Regions from separate parts of the Homo sapiens genome. Here all the other regions are linked to region 4. The links are contacts of gene promoters, found by promoter capture Hi-C in blood cells and fetal thymus (Javierre and others, 2016). All regions are on one chromosome and are shown on one strand. Each heading gives the region's core, a stretch centred on a gene start or on the middle of the fragment in contact. The rest is flanking DNA. Distances are from core to core; before and after follow the strand shown.

The links. The method cuts DNA at HindIII sites, captures the fragments that hold promoters and counts their contacts. A CHiCAGO score of 5 or more calls a contact.
Region 1: a contact is called between a fragment that was not itself captured here and the fragment with the promoter of MYSM1 in region 4, in 17 of 17 cell types (monocytes, erythroblasts, activated CD4 T cells and 14 more). The highest score is 20.7, in monocytes.
Region 2: a contact is called between a fragment that was not itself captured here and the fragment with the promoter of MYSM1 in region 4, in 17 of 17 cell types (total B cells, naive CD8 T cells, monocytes and 14 more). The highest score is 16.4, in total B cells.
Region 3: a fragment that was not itself captured here is called in contact with the fragment with the promoter of MYSM1 in region 4 in 17 of 17 cell types (naive B cells, total CD4 T cells, total B cells and 14 more); the score reaches 26.5 in naive B cells.

What each region holds. Positions count from the first base shown.
Region 1 is chr1:59,749,310-59,752,009 of GRCh38, forward strand. All of the region lies in intron 14 of FGGY (FGGY carbohydrate kinase domain containing), which reads left to right. Among named protein-coding and RNA genes, the nearest start is that of MIR4711, 17 kb to the left of the region's middle. The HindIII fragment of the contact is 1,082 bases long and covers 906-1,987 here.
Region 2 is chr1:59,765,416-59,768,115 of GRCh38, forward strand. No RefSeq gene overlaps it. Among named protein-coding and RNA genes, the nearest start is that of MIR4711, 33 kb to the left of the region's middle. The HindIII fragment of the contact is 1,269 bases long and covers 817-2,085 here.
Region 3 is chr1:59,712,968-59,715,667 of GRCh38, forward strand. The region is part of intron 14 of FGGY (FGGY carbohydrate kinase domain containing); the gene reads left to right. Among named protein-coding and RNA genes, the nearest start is that of MIR4711, 19 kb to the right of the region's middle. The HindIII fragment of the contact is 1,512 bases long and covers 499-2,010 here.
Region 4 is chr1:58,698,765-58,701,464 of GRCh38, forward strand. MYSM1 (Myb like, SWIRM and MPN domains 1) reads right to left here and starts at 1,298. Exons shown (of 20, transcript NM_001085487.3): 1 at 1,221-1,298. The coding sequence starts at 1,288. RefSeq lists enhancers at 793-852, 1,063-1,472. The HindIII fragment of the contact is 3,791 bases long and covers 43-2,700 here.

The sequences.
Region 1 (2,700 bases), core at 197-2,696, 1.1 Mb after region 4:
TCAGTTGGTCAGAAATACAGGAGACCCAGGACTTGTGATTGGCATCTGAAGTGTGGGCAGTCTTGCTGGACTGAGCCCTGAAGCTGTGGGGTCTGACACTAACTAACTGGGGTCAGTGTCAGAATTGAATCAAATTTAATTATAAGTCATGCAATTGGTGGCAGGAGAGTTGGAGAATTGGTGAGTGTGAGGAAAAAACCCATACATTTGGTGTCAGGAGTGTTGTAGGTAAAAACAGCCCAGAGAGGTAAAATCATTCATTGATTCATTTAACAAATCCTTATAGATTAACTATTCTGGCCAGGCACAGTTCTTGGTGTGGTGCATGAATCCAATACACACCCCTGGCCACATGGAGCTTGCATGCTAAAGGGATAATAAATATCTAAAGTTTATGTAGCATTTACTATATGCTGGCATTGTTGTGTTTTACCTCAAATAACTCACGTGCTTCTCATAGCAGTCCTATGAAAGGCATATTTTTATCCCCATTTTCTGATGAGGCAACAGGCATGAAGAAATTAAGTAATTATTCCGTGATTATACAGCTAGTAAATGTAAAAATCCAGTTTCAAATTCTGGCAGTCTGTTATAGTCAGTCTGTATTTTAATCACTGCCCTTTATTTTCTCTGCTTCTGAAAAATCACCTAGACTGGTCCTGACTGCTATAAGGGGAACCAAAGTGGAAGTCAAGAGACCAGTTAGGCAGTAGTGGTCAGAGAATGGGATACTGGAATTTTCAACAACACTGAGTAGATATTATTATTCCCACTTAATAAATGGGAAAACTGAGCTTTGATTCACACATCTGATAAGTAGCAGAGCCTGGATCCAACCCCAAGCCCATTTATCTCTAAAACCCAGTATCTTTCTGCTAATGCCTCCATTTCCTACAGAATTATAAAGCTTCCACTCCTCCCCTCCTTTATGACCAAGAGACCAATTTGAGGTATGTTTTAGAGTCAAAATTAGAGGACTGGGCGTCTAAAAATTTTTTTTTCTCTTGGTAGGCATTTTTATAATTGAAAATAAAATAAAATATAAATATACTGACATGCAGTTCTGTTTTCTCATTTTCTTTTGCAAACTTTAAATTGAGATATAGTACACATAAGGTGAAATACAAAGATATTAATGTACAGCTTGATGAATTTTGATGAAGTATACACCCATATAGTCAACACTCTAAAGATATGTAAATGTGTGCACATAGTGTACTTAAAATTATAAATGAGGTGCCAGTTTTCATATCATGAGTAATGATAAAGACCTCTCCCACTCTCTTTTTCTCTCATCCCTTCCTGCTTCTCAATTGATATTTTTGTCTCCAATTCATGGGGGTTACACAGAATACCAGGTGCAGGTCAAAAGATGACTGTGTCAAAAGGAAAAGAAAGCAAAATAAATAAGAGAACAACTAGCCATTTCTTAATGCGTGTTGAAGGAAAGTCACATTGATATATTTTCTGTTTTTCTATGGAGGGGTCACGTGCCTCAGCCCACACATTAGCATGTGAACTTGTTGTTCCAGTCAAATGAGTCAGAGTTCCTCAGGAAGGCAGATTCCTGTATTTTAGAGCTATGTGTCAGCATCTGTAAAAAAAAAAAAGGTACAGTGTCCTGTATTGATGCATCTCACTGATACACACGTGCTCGTCTCACTCCAGGTAATCACACCTGCTAATAAGCAGCAGAAGTAGGATTTGAACTCCAGCCTAGGGCACTCAAGAATCAGGCTGTTTTCATGACAGGGAGAATGGTACCACTGAGTCCGAATGTAGGGTTTGCAATGGCCTGGAGTCAGAAGTGGGCTTGAATTCTGGTTTTACTACATAATGGCTTTATGACCTTGGGAAAATTACTTATATTCTCTCTATTTTCAGTTCCTTTATTCACAAAGTGGTGATAGATGATCTGTGTCCTAATGTCCTTTTGAGGGTTAAAAAGATCATGTACTTAAAATAATCAGCACAGCACAGAGTACAAAGCTTAAACCAGTAAAATGGCAATGGCAGTGGTAGTCGGCCCCTAAGTCAACAGACACCACAGTGTTTTTTAACCATATACCCCCATCAGTTAAAATAAATTTTGAGTATGCATCCTCAGTACATGAAAACCTATTTATGAAAAAGCATGATGTGCTATACTGTGTTCATAGATTATTTACTCTATAAAACAAGTGAAATATAGCTGAACCAAAGTATTTCCAATGTGTTTACCTGTCATGATGGCTTCATGCTAATATTAGCAACATGTAAAAGTACACTATATGTCTATGGCCAGGTGTGTTTTTAATAATTTTAAAATGATTTTTGATGATTTTTAAATGATTTTGTATGTGCCTATGTATCGAAATCTAAGGCAATCTTCTTGATAATTTTGATTATTTTCCCAATCCTTGTCTTATTTGACTAGGTCTTCATTGTTTTTACCTTACAATATGAGGAGCTAGTACTGAGTAAATACATCACCATTTTCTTGTTTACTTGAATCTGAATGGTGAACTGGTGATAATTATCTCCATCACGTGCAAATCCATTGACTGAATCTTTTTTAGCTGCTTGTCCATTTTGTGAGGGTTAGTTTAAACTAGTTAATACCTATTAATCACTAACCTGGAACATGCAAACGACAACATGTAGCAATTCTGGAAGCTGAGGACATATAAGGGAGTGCCATAGGGCCATCCCTGGAGTTGG
Region 2 (2,700 bases), core at 201-2,700, 1.1 Mb after region 4:
TTTCAGAAAAGATAGACACTTTGCCCAGAGTCACCAGATGGTAGCAGAGATAGGATTCAAATCCAGATCTGCCTGGATGCAAAACTTTAGGTATCACCCCACTGTAACAGCTGGAGAGGAATCCTGCCCACCACCTGCTCTTTAGTTGCAGTGCTCATGTTGTTGATTGCCAAGCTCCGGGTGCTGGCCATTCTTTCAAGCAAACTCGTATCCAAACCAAACCTGACCTGAGTTTTCACTGCTTTATAGAGAAAGGAAAACACACAGAAATTAGGCAAAAACACATGGCAACACTAGGACACCTTTGGCATCTCAACAGTGAGGAGCAGCTTGATAGAAAGGAGAAGGGCTGAAAGACCTTGGGCAACATAGCTAACCTGTCTAAGCCTCAGTCTTTCCCTCTGTGGTGGGATCATTCTGCTACCTACCTCCTAGGGTTGGTGGTAAGGATTCAGTGAAAGAACTGTGGATAAAGCCCTTAGCACAATGCCTTTCAGACAATAGGCACTCTACAAATATTGTTTCTCCATGGTTCTCTCTGCCTCCTAGCTAGGAGGTTAATCCCTAAGAAAATCATTCTGGTTCCTACTATAAAGCCACCGTGTTAGGAAAAAATATAAATGTCTATATATAATTCTATTAGAAACCACGTGTGGCTCAGTAATAAAAATTTTAATCACTCCAATACACACCTCCTTGCACTGAGAAAGGTGGTTTTATTTAATACATGCATGTAAAGTATATTTAGCTTTGATGAATAAGAATTGCAGTGTGGCCAGAGTGGTTTGTGAGATTTTTGTTTTGTTGCCTACTGAAAGCTTTTCTTTCAAGTTAAAGCCAGACTTGCTTAGCAAATCATTTTGCCAAGGAACGCATTACAGGTTTTAAATTTTGACCAAAAATACTTCCCATATGCGAAGAACATAAATGTGGCTTTCAAAAGAGCCAAAGAGAACAAAAGCTGGGGGAGGTGAGGAAGAAAAGACAAGAATGACAGAATGGAGTGGCATGTTGCAGAGCTACAGTAAACTACAGGACCCGATGCCACAGTGAGCTGGAGTCCTAGTGAGGCATCCAGAAGGGACGCCCTCTCTTGTGAAGATCCAGACTGGGCATTTGATCTTTATATTCAGAGCATAATCTGTGTTGTTGCCAGTTGCACTGGGGAGTATAAGTTCCAAGAGGAGCAGTAAAAATATCGTAAGGCAACCCTGGAAACGCCCAGCTTTAAGAATGCACCAAATCAGCATGTGAGTTAGCAAGCTAGAATGCTTAGGTTTTAATATCAACATGATCTGCTATTTCTCCCAGGCCTGAGGATAATCACGTTCTTTAGATTTACTTACCTGCTTTTTTCTTCCTCCCCCCGGCCACCGGCCTGTGAGCTCTTGGAGGGCTCAGAGTATCTTATAGCCTGTTCTCTGTACCCAAACAGTTCTTGGCACGTAATGGGTATTCCATAAGTGAATAAATACACAAACACAAGATGTTTTTCTGAAAAAAAAAAAAAAAAAAAAAAAACACTGGTAGAACTAAAAAAACTCACTTTCAGGTCAATCTTCTGTACGTGTTAATATGCCTTAATTTAAGCAACTGTCAAATGCTTTAAAATGTGTTTTGGTCACTAAGGATTTTTAAAAATCATGCCTTATACCTAACAACTTGCTTTTTTAGTTTTTTATTGCACATAATACACACATGCATAACCACACAACTTCATTTTGGGTTGTAGCTCAAGCTGAGAACCTTTTGCAAATTTTCCATGTTGTTACAGACTATTTCCTGTATGATATCCTATGGGAAGCCAGAGGTGTTGTAATCCAGAAACACCCATTGTTCACCAGGACTGCAGGACACATGCTTTCAGAATTCAAGGGCATAGTTACAAATAATTACCATCAAGAATTTAAAATGAAGGACATCGTTGCTAAACAAGAAACTAATGACTGAGTGGAGCTGTGTAATGTAATTATACTTAAGATGGGACTTCTGACGAATTACAGAAGAATCTTTGTGCTGTCTCATGTCTCCATAAATACACTTAACTGCTATTGACAGTAATAGAAGGGAGTCTTGAATATGAAAAGCTTTTTTTATCCTTTTATGATTTCTAGAGGGAAAACTTAAAAGAACAATTATGTTTTTAAAAAAGATGTTTCTCCCAGTACTTCTGAATATTTGACAATCCTATAAAATTTGTAAAACTAAAGTAACTTTAAAAGCAAAGACTTCTGCTAATAAATCCCGACTTCTCAGTTTAGCATTAACTTGCCCATTAATTTTGTGGTCGTGTTTCATTATGCACAGAAAATCATTTAAAACTACATATTAGCATAAGTGTTTTCTAAAGACCTAATTTTTATTTAAGTCCTGCCTTAAGCCATGATTAGAAGTGCTTCCTTATTAAAATCTAGAGTGAGCCTGCCTCCCTACTGCATAATTGTAAACACATTTGAAATAGAAAATGATTTATTTATTAGTGTCTGTTATTTAGGCAAAATCAATAGGGATGCCTTCCATTTGAATACTTCTTTACAGTTTCCCTATTGATTGCACATACATTATCTCATCTGCCCCTTATAATAAATTGGTGGGGTAGGCCTGACAAAGTGGGATCCCAGTTTACAAATACCCAAACTACATCTCCTAGAGTTTAAGTGACTGGTCCAAAAGATTGCGTAGCTGGAACACAGATGCAGA
Region 3 (2,700 bases), core at 5-2,504, 1.0 Mb after region 4:
CTTTCATGCTCTGTTTTCCTTTTGAAACTGAATGCCTTTAGTAGCACCCAAGTCGCCTCTTGAATGCTTTGCTGCTTAGGAATTTCTTATGCCAGATACCCTAAATCATCTCTCTCAAGTTCAAGGTTTTACAAATCTCTAGGGCAGGGGCAAAATGCCACCATTCTCTTTGCTAAAACATAACAAGAGTCACCTTTGCTCCCATTCCCACAAGTTCTTCATCTCCGTCTGATACCACCTCAGCCTAGACTTTATTGTTCATATCACTATCAGCATTTTTGTCAAAGCCATTCAACAAGTCTCTAGGAAGTTCGAAACTTTCCCACATCTTCCTGTCTTCTTCTGAGTCTTCCAAACCGTTCTACCCTCTGCCTGTTACCCAGTTCCAAAGCCGCTTCCACATTTTTGGGTATCTTTTCAGCAACACCCCACTCTACTGGCACCAATTTAATGGGTGACACACTCGTGCAGCTGGTCCCCACTGCAGGTCCTTCACAAAGCTTCACTAGTCCATGAGAAATGAAACAATAAGGACAGGGTATTGAGATTTTAACAAAATTAAATGTAGACTATTTAAATGATTCTCCTTTATTCTGATATCATGATAACCACTTTTTTGGTATTAAAATCTCCTTTTGGTTATGAAATAATGGTGAGAGTAAATATGGAGCAGTTGCTTTGTTTAAAGTCCTTATATAATCAAATAAAAAGCTGACAATTATGTTGTAGATCTCCAAAAAGTTTGAATATTTTATTGGTCCAAAGTTTGAGAACTCCTACTCTAAGACTTTCAAGAAGATGGCCCTTCCCACATGTGGGGCTGGAACCTCTTCCCCTTTCACTATCATCAGAAAGGCTTCCGCCCTGGATACAATTAGTATTTGTTGCATACTTCAGTATTTTCTAGGTATATCTTTGCTTTTTGGAAGTCTAAAACATCTGGTAGAATCTTTCAGAAGAAGCAACACAGAATAGAGGCATTAAAATCAAAATTTGAAGTCTGAAACTTCTGTTTCTTACCATCATTAAGAGAGAAGTGCCCAATGACAATCATTTCTCCAAACCATCAGCAGCTCCTTGGAAATGAAGTGGAAGGGTGATAATATATCCAGGACAGACCTAGCTAATGTCTTAATCTTGGCATAATTATTAATAATAACATTCCCTTTCCTTCCAAAAAGTGTCTAGGACTCAAAGGTGAGTTCATTGGGATAATAAACTATGGCCACCTTAAATGAAGGCCCCTTCAGCTCTCCTGAGCTAGAAAGTCCCAAAGAGCCTGCTCTTTCCCTGGGCAGGAAGCCATGGTGACCAGTGGAAGGATTATGTCTGTCTTACCAGAGGCCTGGGTTGGGTGCCAGCATGAAGCCTGTAGGATCTACTTAGATCTGGGACTTCAAAGACCTAGTGGTGGGTGAATCTTTGTGGCTTCCATCATTGCTTTGTCTCTGGGAGCATCAAGTTGAAGGCCAAGCTAGTTTCTTTCCTTTGATGAGGGAAAATATGTCAACACAATGGTCCACTGAACTCTGGGAATAGACAGACATGTGGTGTCTTTGGGGGATTATAGCCTAAATGGTTTTACTCTGGCACATGTGGAATTAAATATAAAACAAACAGCTGATTGCTGTTAAATTCACATGCATAAAAACAACCATTACTATGTCTTCTCAGCTACAGTACCAGAGAGTCCCCCTAGAATCAAGCAGTTATTAGATGGGACTTTGGAGTGAGTGTAGAAAAGAAAAGGAGGAGGAGAAGGAAGAAAATGAGGAAAAGAGGAAGAGGAGAGAGAAATAACAAGTCAAATAGGTGGAGAGTTTTGAAAGTTACAAAGTCTGTGCCATTTAGCATGAGTTATTTTTCCTTTTTATTCCTTGTATTTGACATATGAAAAGAAATCTTTGCTGATACTGGCTTCAGATTCTCAGGTTTAAGTATGCTATCCTTGACCCAGGAAAGAGTTACATGCATCATACTTCCGAGGCCTTCAAAGAACAACTTGGAGCAAGCTTGAGAGTTTGCAGGGCATTTTGGTGACATTTCTGGATGCCCTTTGTTTCCCCCTTTCAAGAAAAGCCCTTTCTTTCGTTGCCTTCTCACATAACAGCTTGGGATTCTTGTCCCTCCCAGAAATGCATTTGAACTTGCTGGGTTTGTTAAGAGTCAGGGCATGAAGCATTTTTCCATGGTAGAAAAGTTCTGGCATTCCAAAGCAGAACTAATGTGGGATTTGGGAAGCTTGCCCTATTTGTGCACTTAATTAGAGCTCACCAAAAGCAGCTGATCCATTGGTACCATAAAAAACCAATGCTGAGACCAAGGAAGGCTAAGACTGTGAGTACCCTTAGAGGGTGGTGAACATGAATTCCACACCTGTTCCCTACTGACTGGAATCAGGATTCAAAGGCAAAAAGTTGTGTGCTTTCCAGCAACATTCATTGGGATCCGCAGCCCAATTTAATCAATTGATAGGTTGCCAGTGTCTAAGTCAAGTCCCGAAACACTTGGTTCCCCTTGGGTCAATGAAATTTGGTCTTGGTTCTAATACAAACTTTAAGTTGGCTAAAAATGGCTGAGAAAACTACTGGTTTTAGAGTCAGTCAAGCCTGTGCTCTAAGTCTGACTCTGCCACTATGAGATGTCAGATCTTGGAGAAACTGTTCAGTTACTTCTGAGCTTTAGTTTGCTTCCCGGTAA
Region 4 (2,700 bases), core at 48-2,547:
GTCAACAAGTATTGTTATTAAGGGCTCCCTACTCATCTGCAAAGCTTTGAGGGACAATGACCATATGAGTTTAATCACCCCTCACGTCTTTATAGGGCTTTAGAGTTCATGATACACTTCTAAACACACTATCTTAGTGCCTCAAGCGCTGGGTTAGTACTTCTCCCCTGTTCACAGAGGCCCTAATATTAGGCTGAACTACATGAAGTTGCCGCTTTATAGAACAAAAATGGTCTAAATATTGGCAATTTCATATGGTTCAAGCTAATACAGTTCTAAGGAAATTGTACATAATTATAAACAACATAGCTGGCTGACTTTAGAACTCAGGCTTTCTGATTCCTGGCTAGTCTAGGACTCTTCATGACTAAAAGGAGACTCATTTTTGATTCAGAAAGCAAGGAGTCAAAGGAGGTTCTGTGTCAAATCACACTGGGCTGTTTGTTCTGCTGGAACAGGTATTTTAAAAAATGTGATCCCTTACTGGATTCTCACAGTACTGTCCCCGAGGGTAACAGGATGGTAAAGAATACATTCAGAGGGCACCTACCGTATGCTAAAGCATATCTCATAATCATTTCATTTGATCCTCCCAATTACATATCATGACTCCCAGTTTAAATATGAGCAGTCTGAGGCTCAGACAAGTTAAGTGTCTTGCCCAAGGTCACATTGCTATTAACTGGTAGGGCGAGCAAATGCAGAAGGAAAACCCAGAACTGTCCAACTCTAAAACCTGGCCCATTTAAGTCAACCTGCTTCTCGGGAAGTTTTACAACTATCCCCATGTGGAAGAAGGGATGAAACGACTCGCCCAAGGTCACACGGCTAGCAAGCCATAGAACAAGAGTCCCTGACCTCAGGTCTCGTCCGTAGCCGCTCTTGTTCTAGTTACTGTCGATGAGATCCTGAAAAGGAGGGAACGGAAGAAGGAATCTAAATGTAAATCAAACGCAATGTGGTAGGCGAAATCGGTGCCCTCACAGCATCCGGCAAAAGGTGAAAGCGACCCAGGAGTACCTGAGCTCCAGGTAACCGCCCTGCCCGCTGGGCTTGGGACAAGCCGGCGGGCGAGGTGCCTCCCAGGCCAACAAGAGACCCTGGCCCAGGGGACAGTCTTCTGTTCCCTTTTCCCTTGCCGGACCTGCAGCTTTCCCAGGGCCCGCTCCTTCAATCCACTCCCCTCTCCGCCCCAGAGAGACCCGGTCTCTAAGCCTCACCCTGGCTGTGCCCCCGCCGCCGCTACCACGTCCCCTTCGATATCCACATCCGCCTCTTCAGCCGCCATGATGGGACCTGACCCCGTCCGTCCTCCCGAGAGATCCCGCGAGACGAAGATGGCCCGGGGGCAGGGCCTAACGCGTCACGGGGCGGGATTGAAGCGTCGTCCGGCCCCTCCCGTGCCGGGAGGCGGGGTTTCCAGAGCAAAGGCGCCCCCAGAGGCCTGGGGCTTGGTCCTTTCTAACTTGTTGACATGTAGAGACCTTGGGAAGTGGCCCACGCCTGAGCTTTTTTTTTTTGAGAGGGAGTTTCACTCTTGTTGCCCAGGCTTGGGTGCAATGGCGCGTATCTCAGCTCACTGCAACCTCCACCTCCCGGGTTCAAGCGATTCTCCTGCCTCAGCCTCCCAAGTAGCTGGGATTACAGGCATGCGCCACCACGCCCGGCTAATTTTTGTATTTTTAGTAGATACAGGGTTTCACCATGTTGCCCAGCTGGTCTCGAACTCCCGACCTCCCGACCTCAGGTGATCCGCCCGCCTCGGCCTCCCAAAGCTCTGAGATTACAGGCGTGAGCCACCGCGCCCGGGCCCTCCTGAGCTTCTAAGAGCTTCTGTTCTTGCACACATTCTTTGGGACCTCACTGCTCTCACTGATAAAATGGGGATAACAGCAGTATCTTTCTGGACTGATGAAAAAGTCAAGCTAGACCCGCTTTGTGAACTGAAGGTTGCATACCTGCTGGTTATTTAAGTCTCTCTCTTTGTTTTTTAAAGAAAAGGGTCGTGCAGCACTTATGTGAAGTCGTTCAGCATTTCACCTAAGTGCTGAACAACTTTTATTTTAAAATTCAACAAATATTTAAGAATATAACTTATGATTGTGTAATTTATTTTGTAGACGTCTTTGCAATTTAAAAATCACGCTCATGACCATTAATCCTTACAGTGTCCCAGTGAGGTAGGCAGAGCTAATATCACCAGTTATACTTTACAGGTGAGGTAACTGAGGCCTGGAGAGCTGAAATGACTGTCCAAGGACAGGTAGCTTCAAAGACAGAGCCAGGAGTAGAATCCAGGCTTTGTTGACCCTCTACTGAGTGCTCACCATGTAACAATCATGTTGTTAGAAATTGGAGGATAAACACCACTTCTGTCTAGTTTATAGTTTCTCAAGAAATTAGATACTGACAGCCAGATGCGGTGGCTCACACCTGTAATCCCAGCACTTTGGGAGGCCAGGGAGGGCGGATCACAAGGTCAGGAGTTCGAGACCAGCCTGACCAACATGGTGAAACCCCGTTTCTACTAAAAATACAAAAATTAGCTGGGCGTAGTGGTGGGCAACTGTAGTCCCAGCTACTCAGGAGGCTGAGGCACAAGAATCGCTTGAACCCAGGAGGCAGAGGTTGCAGTGAGCCGAGATCACGCCATTGCATTCCAGCCTGGGTGACAGAGCGGGATTCCATCTCAAAAAAAAA